Linked DNA regions of Homo sapiens: region 1 is linked to region 2. The links are contacts of gene promoters, found by promoter capture Hi-C in blood cells and fetal thymus (Javierre and others, 2016). All regions are on one chromosome and are shown on one strand. The core of a region is centred on a gene start or on the middle of the fragment in contact, and the rest is flanking DNA. Distances in the headings are between cores, read along the strand shown. Region 1 holds the start of ASPSCR1 (ASPSCR1 tether for SLC2A4, UBX domain containing). Region 2 overlaps CCDC57 (coiled-coil domain containing 57).

The links. The method cuts DNA at HindIII sites, captures the fragments that hold promoters and counts their contacts. A CHiCAGO score of 5 or more calls a contact.
Region 1: the fragment with the promoter of ASPSCR1 here is called in contact with a fragment that was not itself captured in region 2 in 1 of 17 cell types (total CD8 T cells); the score reaches 5.0 in total CD8 T cells.

What each region holds. Positions count from the first base shown.
Region 1 is chr17:81,972,363-81,978,878 of GRCh38, forward strand. It overlaps ASPSCR1 (ASPSCR1 tether for SLC2A4, UBX domain containing), which reads left to right and starts at 5,267. Exons shown (of 16, transcript NM_024083.4): 1 at 5,267-5,386. The coding sequence starts at 5,285. It overlaps LOC105371939 (a long non-coding RNA gene), which reads right to left and starts at 5,123. Exons shown (of 2, transcript XR_933953.4): 1 at 5,006-5,123; 2 at 3,606-4,595. LOC124904087 (a long non-coding RNA gene) reads left to right here. Exons shown (of 2, transcript XR_007065951.1): 2 at 3,749-3,973. RefSeq lists enhancers at 3,879-4,652, 4,653-5,424 and a silencer at 4,903-5,762. The HindIII fragment of the contact is 4,025 bases long and covers 3,557-6,516 here.
Region 2 is chr17:82,201,618-82,208,034 of GRCh38, forward strand. CCDC57 (coiled-coil domain containing 57) reads right to left here. Exons shown (of 19, transcript NM_001394669.1): 2 at 1-335. The coding sequence starts at 327. Among named protein-coding and RNA genes, the nearest start is that of CCDC57, 8.0 kb to the right of the region's middle. RefSeq lists enhancers at 3,572-4,373, 4,150-4,329, 4,256-4,550, 4,374-5,175, 4,660-4,719 and 1 more. The HindIII fragment of the contact is 421 bases long and covers 4,037-4,457 here.

The sequences.
Region 1 (6,516 bases), core at 4,017-6,516, 230 kb before region 2:
TCAGCCTCCCGAGTAGCTGCGACTATAGGTGTGCAGCACCACACCCGGCTATTTTTTGTGTTTTCAGTAGAGATGAGGTTTCCCCATGTTGGCCAGGCTGGTCTCTTGTATATATCTGTGCATATCCTATTGGTTCTGTTTCTCTGGAGGACCCTATAATACACTAACCTAACCTAACACAGAAAAGCAAATTAATTCAAATAACTTTTGAACACAATACTCTATGTTTCTTTAATGGGACATACTCTAAAGGACAAAAATAGCTACAAAGACATCTTGAAATTTCCACAGTAGATCTGTTGTTAATAGCAAGATTGCCGCAGTACCTCTGAAACTATTTGGAGGGCATTTTAGAACAAAGCAAATGAATAAATATACTGATTTACTGACAATTAGGGTTCTCACTGCGGACAAAGGAGGTATTAGGTTGAACCATGTAGGTTTTGTCATTTTTTTGTAGATCAAAAATGATCGGCTGGGCGCAGTGGCTCATGCCTATCTATAATCCCAGTACTTTGAGAGGCCGAGGTGGGAGGATCACCTGAGGTCTGGAGTTCAAGACCAGCCTGGCCACCACAGTGAAACCCCATCGCTACTAGAAATACAAAGATTAGCTGCTCATGGTGGCAAGCGCCTGTAATCCAAGCTATTCAGGAGGCTGAGGAAGGAGAATCGCTTGAACCCGGGAGATGGGGGTTGCACTGAGCCGAGATCGTGCCACTGTATTCCAGCCTGGGCAATAGAGCGAGACTCTGTCTCAAAAAAAAAAAAAAAAAAAAAAAAAAAAGCCTGGGTGCGGTGGCTCACACCTGTAATCCCAGCACTTTGGGAGGCCGAGGCAGGCGGATCACAAGGTCAGGAGATTGAGACCATTCTGGCTAACATGGTGAAACCCTGTCTCTACTAAAAATACAAAAAATTAGCCGGGTGTGGTGGCCGGTGCCTGTAGTCCCAGCTACTCGGGAGGCCGAGGCAGGAGAATGGCGTGAACCTGGGAGGTGGAGCTTGCAGTGAGCCAAGATTGCGCCACTGCACTCCAGCCTGGGTGACAGAGTGAGACTCCGTCTCAAAAAAAAAAAAAAAGAAGATAAAAAAAGGTTAACTAGGGCAATTTAATAGAATTCAACCAAATACAAATATGGAATGAGGGAAGAAGGGGGAGAAGGCTGAGGTGTGGCTTAGAAATATTCAGATGAATTCATCACACTAATTGTGTCCCCTGAGAGGGCCCAGAAAGCAGTGACATCCCAGTAGCCATGAGCACACTCAGCACCCAGAACTTGGTCTCTAAATCCCATTTCCTTGTAAAAGGGATTGGGGTTTCTCTGAAAAATGGCTGACTTCAGGGCTTGGGCAGAGAGGAGATGCCCAAAGAATAATGGAAATGCCAAAAGGATGCAGGAAAGATGTCCACACTTGGACAATTAACTGTGGATTAACTCAGAGTATGATACCAACATTAGATTTCCCAATTTTGTATGAAATTATGGTGGCTATATAAGAGACTGGCCTTATTTTATTTATTTATTTTTTTGAGACTGAGTCTCACTCTGTCGCCAAGGCTGGAGTGCAATGGCGTGATCTTGGCTCACTGTAACCTCCACCTCCCACAATCAAGCAATTCTCCCACCTCAGCCTCCCAAGTAGCTGGAATTACAGGCACCTGCCATCACGCCCAGCTACTTTTTGTATTTTTTGTAGAGATAGGGTTTCACCATGTTGGCCAGGCTGGTTTTGAACTCCTGACCTCAGGTGATCCACCCGCCTTGGTCTCCCAAAATGCTGGGATTACAGGCGTGAGCCACTGCACCTGGTTGAGACTGGCCTTATTCTTAGGAAAGAGAAAAACTGAAGTATTTAGTGGCGAAGGTGCTCAATGTCTTTACTGCAGCCTCGACCTCCTGGGCTCAAGTGATCCTCCTGCCTCAATCTCTCAAATCGCTGGGACTACAGGGACATGCCACCATGCCTAGCTAACCTTTGTATTTTTTGTAGAGCTGGGGTCTCACTATGTTGCCTAGGGTGGTCTCAAACTCCTAGGCTCAAATGATCCTCCTACTTTGGCCTCCCAAAGTGCTGGGATTATAGGTGTAAGCCACTGTGCCTGGCCAGAAAAAGTTTTTACATGTATATGGAGAGAGAGAAAGAGAATATGATAAAACAAATGGGGTGACATGTAAACACTGATTTATCTGGCTAAAAGATATACAGGAGGCTGGGCGTGGTGGCTCACACCTGTAATCCCAGCACTTTGGGAGGCTGAGGCGGGTGGATCACGAGGTCAGGAGATTGAGACCATCCTGGCTAACATGGTGAAACCCCATGTCTACTAAAAATACAAAAAATTAGCCGGGCATGGTGGCAGGTGCCTGTAGTCCCAGCTACTCGGGAGGCTGAGGCAGGAGAATGATGTGAACCCGGGAGGCGGAGCTTGCAGTGAGCCGAGATTGCACCACTGCACTCCAGCCTGGGCAACAGAGCGAGACTCCGTCTCAAAAAACAAAACAAAACAAAACAACAACTAGCTGGGTGTGGTGCTGCACACCTGTAGTCCCAGCTACTCGGGAGGCTGAGGCAGAAGAATCGCTTGAACCCGGGAGGCAGAGGTTGCAGTGAGCTGAGATTTCGCCACTGCACTCCAGCCTGGCGACAGAGGGAGACTCCATCTCCAAAAAAAAAAAAAAAAAAAAAAGATATACAGCAGGAATTCTTGCTTTTGCAAACTTTTCTTCTCTTTCTTCCTTCCTCCTCCCTCTTCTTCTTTCTTCTCCTTCTCCTTTTTTGAGACGGTATCGTACTACGTTGCTCGGGCTGGGGTGCAGTAGTTATTCATAGGCATGAATAGTGGTTCACTAAGGCTGGAACTTAAGTAATTCTCCTGCCTCGGCCACCGGAGTAGCTAAGACTACAGGTGTGAGCCACCTTGCTCGGCTAAGTTTGAAATAATATCAGGATAAAAGATCATCCCTCCTATCAAAAAAAGCATAGGAGCCAGCTTAAAGGAGGTCTCACTGGCCAAATTCGGACCAATTTGAGCATCAAAAAGAATGCTGACTGAATGAAAAAAATACATGAATTCATATTAATAAATATATATATTTCAAGATGGGGTTTCACTCTTGTCGCCCAGGCTGGAGTGCAATGGTGCGATCTTGGCTCGTTGCAACCTCCATCTCCCAGGTTCAAGTGATTCTCCTACCTCAGTGTCCCGAATAGCTGGGATTACAGGCACGCACCGCCATGCCCGGCTAATTTTTGTACTTTTTTTTTAAGTAGAGACAGGATTTCACCATGTTGGCCAAGATGGTCTCAATCTCTTGACCTTGTGATCTGCCCAACTCAGCCTCCCAAAGTGCTGGGATTACAGGCGTGAGCCACCGCGCCTGGCCATATTTAATTTTTTTTTTTTTTTTTTTTTTGAGACAGAGTCTTGCTCCGTCTCCCAGGCTGGAGTACAGTGGCGTGATCTCAGCTCACTGCGAGCTCTGCCTCCCGGATTCACGCCATTCTCCTGCCTCAGCCTCCCAAATATTTAATAACTTTTTAAAGAAGGGGAAGCTTGACCGAAAGTGACTATAAATGTAGAAGAAACAATAAACTTGGGAAGCCATGATTTTGCAGCTTTACGGTTTAACACTGAATCTACTCATTAACTGATGCTAAAACTGTTGGGCAAATGGTTATTGGGAAAACTTGATGCTTGTGGTCTCAGAGAATGACCTCACGCATGCCTTAATTACTCCACAAGGAGCCACGGACCTTGACCATGGAGGAATTCAGCAGACCCAAAGCTGACCAAGTGGTTCAACTTCACGTCCTCACTCATGGCCACGCTGATGTCCTGCACCTCCTGCTGACTTGTCACCTCCCTTCATCATTGCCCCAAACGTTTAACCAAGGATCCAGACTGTGGGACAGTCTAAGGAAAATAGGAACAGACTCTTCAAAAACGCCACTAAAGAATTAAAACCCACCAGGTGATGTGTGGCTCAGTAAGGTTCTGAGGTTGCACAGAGCATGGGACTGGCTGGCTGGATGGGAGGGCTATGGCTAGCCTGGGGCTTTCCCCAGGTTTCTCCAATGTACATAGATGTCCGTGTTTGTCAGCATACAGGTGTGTGTGGGTGACATGGATATGTCATCGACAGGAAGGCACAACAGCACCCATGCAGAGATGTCCTTAGACTCAGCAATGACTGCCGGGTGCGGTGGCTCACGTGTGTAATCCCAGCCCTGTGGGAGGATTGACTGATAACTGCACCAGTTCCCCCTTCCACAGGCTACTGGGCAGCTGAGCCCTAGCCAGGAGTCCGCAGAGACAGGCAGGCACATGGAGAGAGGAGTGCCAAGGCCCGGCTGAGCCATGGAGGTGGGGGGCGGGGCGGAACACGTGCGAGTGCTGTCCATGAGTGGCCCAGGTGCTGGGAGCTAAGCACATTCGACGGCTGCGAGTCAGGAGGGCAGCTCCTTCTGGAAGCCTGGAGCTGGTGAGGCCAGGTGCTTTCCCTGCTGCGGTGGCTGGCGATGGGAGTGTTTCCTGAGGCTGCCACCAAGCCCCTCCTCAGCATGGGTTGGTGCGGGAAGTCCTTGAGTGCCTGTGGGTCGGCAGGAGCTCCGGTGAGACTCAAGTTCGCTCACCCCACGGTTCTGAAACCGGTCTCCCGCCTTTCCTACCCTCAGGTTTAGGGACCGTCGCGGCAGCCCTAGGGCTGCCAGATTCTGCACTCCCATTTTAGGATGAAAGAAATCAGGTCTAGACTGAGGGCCACGAGTCCCAACACCCAGGGAGGATCCGTACAGGGGCGGGGGGACTGCCCCAAACCATAAGGTCAGGAGGTGGACGCTGACCACAGGGACAGGTGGGCAGGGAAGAGGCTCAGCTGCTGGAGTGGAGGAAGCCGGGAGGGTCGGGGGAGAGCAGGGCACCGAGCTGGGGACGTGTCAGGGACGAAGCGAGGGTGGGCGAGCGCGGACCGCTGGGACCCCGGGGCTCAGTGCCGCTCACCGGGGGTGACCGCGCGCCCAGCCCCGGCCCAGCCTGGCCCCGGCGAGCCCATCCAAGCCGCGCTTCCCGGAGGCAGAGGACGACCGCGCTTTCCGGGTCTGGCGCGGGCTTTGGCGGCCCAAGGGCGGGGCCGGGGCGCCGTGGGTGGGGAAAGGGCGGGGCCTGGCAGGACCCGGAAGTGCGCTGCGGCCCCGCCCCCTGGCCGCGTGGCTGCGCGTCCTGGCTGTTGCCGATAAAGTTGTTTGACGCCGGCCCGGCGGCGGGTCACGTGAGCGGAAAATGGCGGCCCCGGCAGGCGGCGGAGGCTCCGCGGTGTCGGTGCTGGCCCCGAACGGCCGGCGCCACACGGTGAAGGTGACGCCGAGCACCGTGCTGCTTCAGGTGCGGCCGCCCGCCCGGGGCGGACGGGTAGGCGGGCGGGGGGCGCTGCGCCGAGGCCCCGCCCATTGCGGTCGGCGTCCCGGTGTTCGGGGGCGGGGCCTCGGCGGCCAATGAGCGGCCTCCTGAGCGGCGGCCCCGCCCCCTGCTCGCCGTCACCTGCGCTTCCGCTGGGGTCCCGGGGGTCCCGGGGGTCCCGAGTGGGGGCGGGGCGGTGGCGAGCCTTCCCAGGGGTGAGGTAGAACGGCGCCGCGTGTCACCCGCATCGAGTACTCGGCGCCCGGCCGAGCCCAGCTCGCGAGGGCGCCGGGAAGAGGGAGGAGTGGAGCCCTAGACCCGCGTTCCCATTCCGGGGCGTCCCCCGGAGCGGGAGCCCGGGTTGCGCGGTGGCAGATGTCCCGGCCGTGGGGCCTGGAAGCGATTTTTGCCGAGTCACTCACTGCACTTTTACTTGGGCACCTTGTGACCGCGAATCAATTAAATGTAAAAGTATTGGCTGGGCGCGGTGGCTCACGCCTGTAAATCCCAGCACTGTGGGATGCCGAGGCGGGTGGATCACGAGGTCAAGAGATCAAGACCATCCTGGCTAAAACGGTGAAACCCCGTCTGTACTAAAAAAATACAAAAAAATTTAGCCGGGCGTGGTGGCGGGCGCCTGTAGTCCCAGCTACTCGGGAGGCTGAGGCAGGAGAATGGCGTGAACCTGGGAGGCAGAGCTTGCAGTGAGCCGAGATCGCGCTACTGCACTCCAGCCTGGGAGACAGAGCGAGACTCCATATCAAAAAAAAAAAAAAAAAGTATTTATTGAGCCTCTGCTGCGTGGGGGACCGTGAGGATCCGAAGGTGCACACGACTCGGAGTTTGCGGGAGCAGCCCACGGCGTGGGGTCCCCAGGCCTGGGCAGGTGGAGGGCGCAGCCAGGAGGCTGTTGGTGCCAGGCGTGCAGAGTGCGGAAGTGGGGCGCTCCCGCAGAGGCTGCGCGGGACCCCTTGGTGCAAGGCCACGGCTTTGGCTTTTTATGGAGAAGAGGGGCGGAGGCGGTGCAGGCAGTGGCAGCAGGTGCACAGAACCGTGCCAGAGCCAGGGGGTAGCTTGTGCTAGGCAAGTTTAAGGCAGGTTGCAGAACTACAGGG
Region 2 (6,417 bases), core at 2,997-5,496:
CTCTCTGGCTAGCGCCTGCCTCAGCTTAGCTGCCTCTATCTTGAGCTCGCTCACCTCTGCCCGCCTGGCCTCTTCCCACTCCCTGGCCTGGGCGAAGGCGGCGTCATAGCGCTCCAGCTCGAGGTCCCGCTCCTCCAGCACCTGAAGGTTGTAGACAAAGTCCTCCTGCAGGCACCGCAGTTTCCCCTGCGCCTCCTCCAGCTGGCTCCGTGTGTCCTGCAGAGCCGCCTCCTGCAGCTGGGTGCGGTGTGCCTGCAGCGCCCTCCACTCCTCCTCCTTGCGAAGCAGCAGCTCATTCAGGGCGGGCTCTGAGCCCAGTGGCAGCATGGTGGCCGCTGCAGTAAAGAGAAATCAGGTTCAGGGTGCACCGTGAGGGGCCCTAATTTTCCTACCACAGTACCTACCTCACATTCCCTATCAACAGTTACCACGGCCGGGCACGGTGGCTCACACCTGTAATCCCAGCCCTTTGGGAGGCCGAGGCAGGCGGATCACCTGAGGTCAGGAGTTCAAGACCAGCCTGGCCAACATGGCAAAAACCTGTCTCTACTAAAAATACAAAAATTAGGCCGGGTGCAGTGGCTCACGCCTGTAATCCCAGCACTTTGGGAGGCCCAGGTGGATGGATCACTTGAGGTCAGGAGATCGAGACCAGCCTGGCTAACATGGTGAAACCCCGTCTCTACTAAAAATACAAAAAATTAGCCTGCTGTGGTGGCACGTGCCTGTAGTCCCAGCTACTCGGGAGGCTGAGGCAGGAGAATCGCTTGAACCCAGGAGGTAGAGGTTGCACACCAGCCTGGGTGACAGAGCAAGACTCTCTCTCAAAACAAAATAAACAAAAAAAAAAGGCCAGGCATGGTGGCTCACTCCTGTAATCCCAGCCCTTTGGGAGGCCAAAGTGGGTGGGTCACCTGAGGTCAGGAGTTTGAGACCGGCCTGGCCAACATGGTGAAACCCCGTCTCTACTAAAAATATAAAAATTAGCCATGCATGGTGGCGCATGCCTGTGATCTCAGCTACTCGGGAGGCTGAGGCAGGAGGATCACTTGAACCCAGGAAGTGGAGGTTGCAGTGAGCAGAGATCGCACCATTGCACTCCAGCCTGGGCGACACTAAGACTCTTTTCTCCAAAAAATTAAAAAAATAAATTAAAAAAAAGAAATCCAGGGGAAGTAGAGGAAGGGAAGATGGGAAACATGGTTTGTCCAGCTATAAGAGCTAGGTTCTATAAAATAGCTTCAACGCAGCACTCTGTCCATTTCACAGCTGAGAAAACTAAGGCTGCTAAGTGGCTACGTGAGGACTGACAGCAGGTCAGTCCCTCAGAACCAATGCCCCTTCCCACCCAACACCCTGCTCCTGGAAGATTCACCACCTGATATGGTTTCGATATTTATCCCTGCCCAAACCTTTGTGGAATTGTAATCCCCAACGGGGGAGCTGGGGCCTGGTGGGAGGTGTTTGGATCATGTGGGCGGACCCCTCGTGGCTTGGTGCCGTCTTTGTGACAGTGAGTTCTGGGGAGATTTGGTCATTTCAAAGTGTGTGGTGACAATGAGTTCTAGTGAGATGTGGCATCTCTCCACCACTCACACTCCCCTCTTGCTTCGTGCCTGCTCCTCTTTCACCTTCCGCCATGAGTAAAAGTTTCCTGAGGCCTCCCCAGAAGCGGGTGCCAACACTGTGCTTCCTGTACAGCCAGGAGAACCGTGAGCCAATTAATCTTTCTTTATAAATTACCCAGCGTCAGGTATTTCTTTCCAGCAATGTGAGAATGGTCTAATATACCATCCGAGAGTACATTCTTTTGTTCTTTTATTTGTTCATCATGGACTGATATTTTGGTAAAACCATAAAAATAAAGTGCTACAAAAAATAAAATTTAAAAACAAAAATCACAAAAACCAATAAGCTGGGCACAGTAGCTCTCGCCTGCAATCCCAACATTTTCTGAGGCTGAGGTGGGTGGGTCATTCAAACTCAGGAGTTCCACGCTGCAGTGAGTGGTCTATTAAAAGATAAAGTTTCTTCTGGCTGGTCCTAGCTGCCCCCAACCCTTTAGAGGTCCAAGTATGAGCTCGATTTGGACACAGAAATCCCCCACAACTCTTCTCTGGTGTCCACACAGGGGAACTGCATGGCCTAAAAGGGCCACACCCAGTTGGGGGACAAGCACAAACTTCCGGCCTGGTGGGACATGGCCGGGGTGCTGCTGCCAGAGCAGGAAAAAGCCCCAGCCTGTCTTAGGGTACCTCTGTATCTCCGGGCACCTCTGCATCTCGGGGCACAGCAATGGTTGTACAAAGTCCCAACTCCCAGAGGGAGCGGGTACAAGGGCACAGCCAGGCTGAGCACCGGCTGTGACGAAGCACAAGGAGGAGGTGGGTAAGGGGCTGCAAGACCCGTGGGCCCCTCCAGAAAGGGCTGGTCAGCAGGGCACACCCGCTGGGGGCACGAGGGCTCCCTGGGGGTCCTGAGACGGCGCTTCTCTGACGAGGCTCTGGAGCAAAGACGGTCTCCTCCATCCCACATGCTTCCTGCGATGCAACCCCCGCGCCCAGCACCCTAGGACCATCACGCCACCTGGACCACCTCAGCCTGGCTCCTCCAAGCTGCTGCGTGCCCACCCATTGCCGGAGCTAACAGGGTCCCTACCGACCATCTCAGCACTCTCCCACGCTCCTGTTCCTCGTCTCCCTCAGCTCCTACAACGGCCCCACCGTCCACCCCGTGTAATGATCCTTGACCTCTTGCTGTCTCCCACCTTGTGCCCACACCTCGGCCACCACAGTGTCTTACCACAAGAGACCTCAACTGGCCTCTGCTGTGCACTCCCACTTTTTTGGCTGCCAAAGGAATCTTTTCAAAAATGCTTTACCAGGGCCGGGCGCAGTGGCTCATGCCTGTAATCCCAGGACTTTGGGAGGCCGAGGCGGGCGGATCATAAGGTCAGGAGATTGAGACCATCCTGGCTAACACGGTGAAACCCCGTCTCTACTAAAAATACAAAAAATTAGCTGGGCGTGGTGGTGGGCGCCTGTAGTCCCAGCTACTTGGGAGGCTGAGGCAGGAGAATGGCGTGAACCCCGGAGGCGAAGCTTGCAGTGAGCTGAGATCGCACCACTGCAGTCCGGCCTGGGCAACAAAGAGAGACTCCATCTCAAGAAAAAAAAAAGGCTTAACCAGGCTTCCCATTCCACTGAGGACATCTGGACCCCAGGCTCCTGCCTGTCGCTGCCACGTGCCCTCAGAGCCTGGGATGTGTGGCAGGTGCCGCTCTGTCTGCAAGGTTCCTCCTAACCGCAGGGCAGGCTCCTCCTGCCAGTGGGACCTCAACCTGAACATCACTGCAGGGAAGCTTTCCTAACTTCCATCTCACGTTGGCACAACGCCATCACCCCAGTGTCGGGTGTAGTGAGTCCCACTGTCTGGCACAGTCTTGGCGACTGAAACATTTTGTACACAGAGGACATGCACACACCTGTGCACACACCTGTGCACACACAGGGAAAGAATTGGACTATCAGCAAATACACATTAAATGATGGAACACCACTGTGATCTCTGATGACTCAGAACCCTTCACACAGTGCCCGTGAGTCATGACAACGGTTCTCTGCAGAGCCTGAGGTCTGCGAGGTCTACGGGCCTCTTCTCTGAGGGACTGCTGTGGCCCCCGTCCTGTACCAGCTGCCCTGCCACTGGGCTTGCCTCCTTAACTCATTGGTCGCAGCCACCCATGGGGGTTGCCGTTCTGAGAATCTGATCATGCAATCTTATCTGGCCTCAAATGTGCCCGCGACTCCTGACCATTTTCAAAATAAAGTCCGATCTCCTTGGCACAGCGTATGAAGACAGACCGAGGACACGGCCCAGCCTGCGTGGCTCCAGCTGCTCCCTGCAGGCCCAGAGCAGCCTTTATCTGCCAGTTCCTGTGCACGTGCTACTCCAGGTCCCCATGCCCCCATCTCCCCACTGGGTGAGGTTCCTTCCCACCAGGTCTCAGGACTCAGCGGGTCACCCTGTTTTCAAAAGCTTCAGGCAGCCAGGACAGGCAGATGGCACGTACCACCCCCTCTATGTGAGATGGGTGCTCCCAGGCCTCTGTGCTCTGCACAGAAGAGCAGCCTGAAAAATCCATACAGCAAGTGACTCGGTGCAGCACCCGGTGAGAGCCCAGCATCTCCAGCGCTTTATCCATCACACTCAGGACCCATAAGAAGCCCCACACACCAAGGGCCTGTAAGTCAGCCGGGCTCGGCTCGCCTTTCCTTCTGACCTCATCATAGAACGGCCTGCTCTGTTTCTGTACAAATCCCATCTCGGGATGATCCCCAAAGCCCCAAGGCTGAGATTAATTGGCTTTCAAAAGCACGGACTCAGCATCTGGACGCAATCTGCCTGTCGGCCAGCAGGCGTCCCCAGCAAGCACCTGGTTTCAAGAAGGACCATGAAGCTTCCGGGTTGGGGAGCGGCAGGAGAAGCCGCCGGGGAGGGAAGGCCTCGCTGTGCGTTCACCCTCTTTCAGGAGAACCAGTGGGGCTCCCTGAACCAGCCAGCTCCCAGCAGGGGCTGGAACAGCATGGGTGGGCATCCCATCACTTTGATTTTCTCATTTTAAAAATACTGAGCTGAGCTAACGGTGATGTTGTAGGTTTACCTGTTGTGGTACAATGACACATCATGGTTTTCTTGCACAGTTCCTGGCTCATAACTCTCACACGTCACAGTCTTTTGTTGCAATGTTGGGCGTGTCAGGCCTCAGGAAACAGAATCCTTCCAGGTCTCCACTCTCACCTGACTTTCCATTGTAGGTCATAAGATCCTCCCCAGAGCTCCCACCCTCTACCCTGGGGGAAGGAATGCTGACTTCAGGAAGCCTCCCTAAACACCCAAGAGGACAGGGTGTGGAGAGGTTCCTGGGGAGTGGTGGGTGGGGTGTGGGGGGGTCCTCCAGGAAGCCTCTTCCCCCATATCTCCCCTTACGCATCTCCTCATCTGTATCCTCTGTAATACCCTTTATAATAAACTGTTACACGTATGTGTTTCCCTGGGTTCTGTGAGTCACCCCAGCAAATCAATCGAACCCAAAGAGGGGGCTGTGGGAACCCCAACTTGAAGCCAGTGGTCAGTCAGAAGTTCCGGAGGCCAGGACTCGCGACTGGTGTCAGAAGCGGGCAGTCTTTGAACCACCATTGCAAAATTATAACTCAGACAGTGAAAGAGATCTGACCTAACCAATTCCATCGTGCTTCTAACCTCCAAGCTCTCCTTGTTCATTCCTGGGTGTAGGCCGAACTAAGTTTAGGAGGAACTTAGTTTATAGTTTGAAACAAAGACAGTAACAGCCCTTTCCCGAAACAAACCCCCTTTTTGCCTGGGGACTAGACTGCCTTTGTAGGACTAACAAATTAGCCAAAAGATTAGAAATTATGGTTTAGGGCCAGGTGCAGTGACTGGCCCCGGTTGTCCCAGCACTTTGGGAGGCTGAGGCTGGATCACTTGAGCCCAGGAGTTCGAGACCAGCCAGGGCCACACGGCAAAACGCTGCCTCTACCAAAAATACAAAAATTAACTGGGGCGTCGCTTGTAGTCTCAGCTACCAGGCAGGCTGAGGTGGGAGGATCGCTTGAGCTTACGACGTTGAGGCTGCAGTGAGCTGTGATTGCACCACTGCACTCCAGCCTAGGTGACAGAGTGAGACCCTGTCTCAAAAATAAAAAAAAAAAAACAAAAAAGAAATTATGGTTTAGGAGTCATGCAGCTACAGGCTACAAGATTCTGACCTTCCCCAAATTGTTCCTGGGGTAACATCACTATTGTAAAACCTAAGATCAATCAGTGCTTGAGATATTTTGCAGACCCTGCACTCCATGGATCAGCTGGCACCCCCGGATTGATAAACTGGCTCATCCGATCTTGTGGCCCCCACCCAGGAACTGACTCGGCGCAAAAGGACACCTTCGACTCCCTACGCTTTCATCTCCAACTCACTGGCCCCCTACACACTAAGTTATCCTTAAAAACTCTGATCCCCGAATGCTTGGGGAGACTGATTTGAGTCATAATAGAACTCCGTTCTCCCGCACAGCCGGCTCTGTGTGACTTACTCTTTCTCTATCCTAATTCCCGTCTTGGTGAATCGGCTCTGCCTGGGCAGCAGGCGGGGTGGACCTGTTGGGTGTTTATGTCTTGGGTGTTTATGTCTTGGGGACTGAGCCCTCACCCTGTGGTCTGACCTCTCTCCAGGCAGGCGGTGTTGGAACTGAACCGAAGGACACCCGCCGAGTCTGCGGCAGAACTGACTGCTCATGTGCTGGTGAAAACCTCCCTCTCCCACCACATTTGATCACAGAAGTCTTCCTCTGTGCTGATGATTCTTGTGGTATCAGAGTAGAGGAAAAACAGTTTGAG